Linked DNA regions of Homo sapiens: region 1 is linked to region 2. The links are contacts of gene promoters, found by promoter capture Hi-C in blood cells and fetal thymus (Javierre and others, 2016). All regions are on one chromosome and are shown on one strand. The core of a region is centred on a gene start or on the middle of the fragment in contact, and the rest is flanking DNA. Distances in the headings are between cores, read along the strand shown.

Region 1 (2,700 bases), core at 90-2,589, 1.2 Mb before region 2:
TGAGAGAAGCTGCAAAAAATCATTTGGTAGAAATTAATCAAAAAATTAAAAAAAATAAAATGTTCAGTATTCATCTAGCATTTAGTTCTTATTTTTCCTTTTCATAAAATGCAAGAGAATCAATTTTATTTTCAATTATCTAATGTATTTAGCCCCAAAAGATGAAACATGCACAGACAGCTTTAATATGAATGGCAAGGAAACGACCAATTTTAATGGCTTGGTTTTAGTAGATGACCAGTTTGAAAGATAATTTACAATGCTGAAATGAGAGCTGATCATTTTTCTCAAAACGTTTTTCAGGTTAAAAAAAAATCTTTATTAGCTGTATCTTCCCTTGATGACAGGGTTCAGGGGCAAGACTTAAGCTAGCCAACTCAGACTGCATCACAGAATGCAACCAAATGTTTGCTCAATTAGTAAGTTAACATCATAAAAATAAGTTTTAACTGTGGACGTTTTTAGAGCAGCAAAACTGCCGAATCTTTAAAAAACTGGGAACTGCCACAGCTCTTTTAATGAACACGTGCCCCGGATACGCTACCAAGGAACTAATAAGGTTTTAGGCATCGTTTTGTTTTGTTTTGTTATTACTAATGCCTGCAGGCTTTCAGCGTTAGGTCCCTCTCTGTAACCCACAGCAGGGCCTAGAACATGAGGCGGTTGCGCGTGAGCAGTATTTCTTTTTTTAACTCCAGCAAAAGCCCCGCAAACGATAAACGCTAAAAGCCCGATTGACATCCTCCTTGCCCTTCCATCTCTCCTTTACGAAGACGGTTATAATCCTGGCGGGACCAGGGGTGGAATATTGTGGTTCTGGAGGGACAGAGCGAGTGCGTGAGAACACGGCAGGGGAGGGCAGCAAGACGTGACCACGGAGTAGGAGGGAAGGATGTTGCCTCTTCTAGGGCGGGAAGAGACTGCGAGAGGTGCTGCTATGCATGACCAAGGCTGGCACGCGGGGAAGATGGTGATGGCCGCAGGACAGGGTGAATGCGGGGGATTCCCTGTTAAGGGGCAGCGTTCGTGGCCGCCTCCGGTGAATGATTCGGGAGCAACGAAAAGGGTGAGGCACAGAACCCGGGAATTCCTGACCGAAAGAGAAAAAAGGGCGCCGAGAAACAGGGTTATTATGGGATGGCTAAGGGGGCTCCCTAGGAAAAATTACAGGATCTTCCTCACCCGCCAATTGCTGTACAGTCTCTTCACTCGCCGATAATAAGCGTCTTTGTCCAGAGTCACAGCCATAGCCCCGGACGCCGCTTCTCCTCGGGTTCCGAGAATCACGCGAGGTCCCGGCTCAGCCACCCGCTCTCGGCCCAGGAATCCCGCACTCTCCCAATGACCCGGAAGTATCGACCTCAAAGATGCCCTTTCCGCTTCCGGGTCCCAACAGCGTTAGGTTTTTTTTTTGTTTGTTTGTTTGTTTTGTTTTTTTCCAACCCTCTTTCGGATGGACGGGGGAAAGAGAGAAAGAAAAACGAGGGAAAATCAACAAAATGTGCGATGCAAAGAGTCGATTTTCGCGGGGTTTGTCAACTTCGCCACTGCCGCACGCGAATCGACGTCGTCACGTGACGGTCTGCCTCCGCCCTTATTAACTCTCAGCCCAGCGGCGGTTTCCAGGACCTCAGACTTTTTGCCGAGGCGGCAGTCCCTAGACGAAGCGAAGGAGGCGGCGCCTGCCCCGCCCACAAGAGCTGCCGCGCGCGGGTGTTATAGCTCCACCCCATCTGCAAAGGAAGGGGGAGCGGAAAGAGCGGGATCTAGCGTGGGATAAAAGTGGGACTACTACAGTGTAACTGGGCATGCGCCCCTCCTAGAAATGATGGGAATGCAAAAGCCCTTGACTGCTCCAGGACTCGAGGGATCCTCGGTGCCAGGATGCTGGGTCAAGCGCTCCGCCGGGACAGAGGACTCATACCAGGGAAATGGAGCCCAGCCTCGTGATAAACTACGACCCAAGCTGGGGGAGGAACCTAGTTTTCGAAAGGAAAATAATATGCGCAAGCTTTAACTGAGCAGTGGGATGGTGTAAGTCAGAGGAAACAGATGACTTGAGGGGCTCTACAAACTTTTAGTTCCTTCCCACAACCCCACCCCCTGAGCCCAAGTCGCGGCAGCATCCTTCCAGTCGGCCAGTCCCCTTGCTGCAGTTCATGAAAACTGGCACTATTCTATGGCTTCCCCCAAATAACCGTTACTTCAGTTAATTAGAAACAAAACATAAATGGTTCCTGATGACATTCTTGCTCCCTGTCTCTTCTAAAAACTTGGAGTTTGAATCCAGAAGTTTGCCTACCTACCATTTACCTTAAATAATTCCCTTGCCTTTAGCCAGCTGGACAGTCTACATTTGTATATACCCTTTAGAGGAGTACAGATGACTTGTCTGCTGTAAGGCAATTTAGTATAAACAGTATTGAACTTAAGGAAAGTGGTGCTGAAATTACCCACCATTAACAACTCAAAATCAATACACTGGGTTTGAGCAAACATAGAACAAAGGAAGAGTGGAAAAGGATTAACTTAAATTTATTAATGCCAAGGGGAAAGAAGGTAACAGTTCCTGACCCTCCAGCTGTATCCACAGTTCGGCCAGGAACAGGCTCTGCCAGAGGCTAGGGCCAGCGCTACATAGTCTGTGGTTAATGGAGGTGACTAGGGAGGGGTGAGCACACCAGCTGCTCTAGTCTCCTT
Region 2 (2,700 bases), core at 187-2,686:
TCGTGCAAAAAGCATATGGTCAAGTTTAGCAGCTCTCTTTCCGCAAGCTGGTATCTTGAACCTGGTGTAATATCCCGGGATGTCAGCGTCGAAAGGCCCGAAAGAGCATGCCTGGTTCAACCCTACTCTCTCCAACTCATTTTGCAGAAGAAACTGAAATGGTTTCAGGTTTTGTATTTTAACAAGTGGGATTATTTTGAGGGTTTTAACTGTTTTTTTTTTTTTTTTTGAGACGGAGCCTTGCTCTGTCGGCCAGGCTGGAGTGCAGTGTCGCGATCTCGGCCCACTGCAACCTCCGCCTCCCTAGTAGCTGGGACTACAGGCACGCGCCACCACGCCCGGCTAATTTTTGTATTTTCAGTAGAGACGGAGTTTCACCATTGTTAGCCAGGCTGGTCCCGAACTCCTGACCTTGTGATCCGCCAGCCTCGGCCTCCCAAAGTGCTGGGATTACAGGCATGAGCCACTGCACCCGGCCTGTTTTAACTTTTTTTAAGAAATTAAGTTCTGGCTTTCGTTGCCCTTTTAATTTCACGTGAATCCGACCTTCTAGACCCAGTTCATCTCACCTTTTAGCTGTAAGTTTTTCCACACATGACCAGGTACTTTATTTTCAGCTTCTTAATATTTTGAACTGTACGTGAGCAAAATTCCTAAAACAGCAGGTGAACAACAGCGTTCCTGCCTTTTCACTTTTTTTTTTTTTTTTTTTTGAGATGAAGTTTTGCTCTTGTCACCCAGGCTGGAGTGCAGTGAATGGTGCGATCTCGGCTCACTGCAACCTCCACCTCCTGGGTTCAAGCCATTCTCCTGCCTCAGCCTCCCGAGTAGCTGGGATTAGAGGCACCTGCCACCACGCCCGGCTAATTTTTGTATTTTTAGTAGAAACGGGGTTTCGCCATGTTGGCCAAGCTGATCTTGAACTCCTGACCTCAGGTGATCTGCCTGCTTCAGCCTCCCAAAGTGCTGGGATTATAGGAGTGAGCCACTGCGCCGGCCCCTTTTCACTTTTTATTTGCCTTTAGACTGGAAACTCTACACGCATTAACTAACGGATGTATTATCAGTGGTGATCAAAGCCTTACTTAAGTTCTAGAAAGAAGAGAAATAACCTAAGAAACCTTTAGAGTCTATTTGAATAGATAGATTTATATTCATACCCGTGGAGATTTGTGCAGCTATATGAACATAAGTTCAGCCTAAACCTATGTTGCTGAGAAAGAAAAAAAAAGAGTGGATAACAAGCTGGTTCTTATTTCAATATAATATGGCAGGAAGCATCAATTTCTCTGACAAGTTGAACCTTTCTCTCTGCCTCATCAACAAGTAGGAGGGTAGCTTCCTCACGAATATTCAACTTCAAACTTTACAGGCTAGGCTGATGCTTTTTAATCATTCAGGTGTGGATTCTTCAGGGAGTTTCTGTTCCATCAGCCAGGCTCCTTCCAGTGTTTTCTCCCTTATGTTTTGTCTGCCTTTGATCCATGTCAACTATCATCATTAAGATCTCCCCAGGAACTCTCACAGGAGAGAAGAAGAGATGAAAAACACCAAATGGACTTATTGAATGCATTTGTTTCTGAGACCTGCTAGTCACACCAATATACTACACTAGGGCTTTTCTGAACTACTTAAAACAGCAAGAAAAGGCCTACTTCTCTATTCGGTTTATGATTCTATAATCATTGAAACATTTTTAACTGATCTGTCAATAGGAAATTGCTAACACTAGTGTTGATTTCAATTAGTTTAAATCAGAATATTAATATAGTTTAAAATTCTTGTCCAGAGTAGTGGATAAGAGTGCAAGCTCTAGAATCAGACAGTCCTAGGTTTGAACCTTGATTCTGCTGTTTACTAGTTGTCTAATCTGGAACAAGTTACTCAGTCTGACAGTCTCATTTTCCTTTTCTATAAAACAGAAATAACAATACCTGGCTCATTGAAATTATGTGAGGATTAAATGAGATAATGTTAAGCATTAAGCTGTTAGCATAGTGTTTGGCAGACAGTAAATGTTCAGTAAATGTTTGCTCTTATTAACTATCATTAATCCTAGTAATTAACCATGTCTGCTTCTCCTAGTTCTCTGAATGATTAAAAGTTAGCCAAACTACAGCGCCCCCAATAATTTGGGTATGCAAAAGATAGCACTGGAGGGACTGCAACTCAAATGGCTCTTAAAGGGCAGATCTAATTTATAAGCTGAAACTGAAGTCAGAGTATACTTTAGGGGTTTCATTACATAAAACAATGGAAGAGTGGAGGAGCAAGAGGGTTCCCTTAAGGGCAAAGTCCATGATTTTACATCATACATCCTCTACAAAAAGAAATCACATTATTTACCAAAAGAAACACAAATCCTCCAAAGTTTGAGTAGACAATAACTCTTCTAAAGGAAATCTCCGCATGGAAAAGAATGTCTTTTCCATTTCCTTTCCCTTGCATTGTCACGTTTGCCTTAAGATTCCCCTCTTTGCTTCTGTTAACTGCTATTGCATATATAATCTCTACCTTCTAAACTTTGGCCCCAGTGTGACCAAAACCCCCTCTCCTTGTTTCCTAATAGAACAGATAAAATAGGTTATTATTTTCAGAAATAAAAATTTAAGGAGAATCAAGTTGCAAACAGCACAAAGTCAAATTTTTAAAGTATCAAGTTTCTGATCAAGTCCTAGTAAAGCAGTAAATATCTTCAGT

What was found. Contacts are between HindIII fragments. The CHiCAGO score rates a contact against its expected background, and 5 or more counts as called.
Region 1: a contact is called between the fragment with the promoter of SUPT16H here and a fragment that was not itself captured in region 2, in 1 of 17 cell types (total CD8 T cells). The highest score is 6.8, in total CD8 T cells.

Annotation. Positions count from the first base shown.
Region 1 is chr14:21,382,680-21,385,379 of GRCh38, forward strand. SUPT16H (SPT16 homolog, facilitates chromatin remodeling subunit) reads right to left here and starts at 1,340. Exons shown (of 26, transcript NM_007192.4): 1 at 1,183-1,340. The coding sequence starts at 1,248. It overlaps CHD8 (chromodomain helicase DNA binding protein 8), which reads right to left. Exons shown (of 38, transcript NM_001170629.2): 38 at 2,520-2,700. It overlaps LOC107984643 (a long non-coding RNA gene), which reads left to right and starts at 1,594. Exons shown (of 2, transcript XR_001750627.2): 1 at 1,594-2,034. The HindIII fragment of the contact is 3,293 bases long and covers 1-2,009 here.
Region 2 is chr14:22,589,980-22,592,679 of GRCh38, forward strand. No RefSeq gene overlaps it. Among named protein-coding and RNA genes, the nearest start is that of DAD1, 2.1 kb to the left of the region's middle. The HindIII fragment of the contact is 3,829 bases long and covers 1-2,700 here.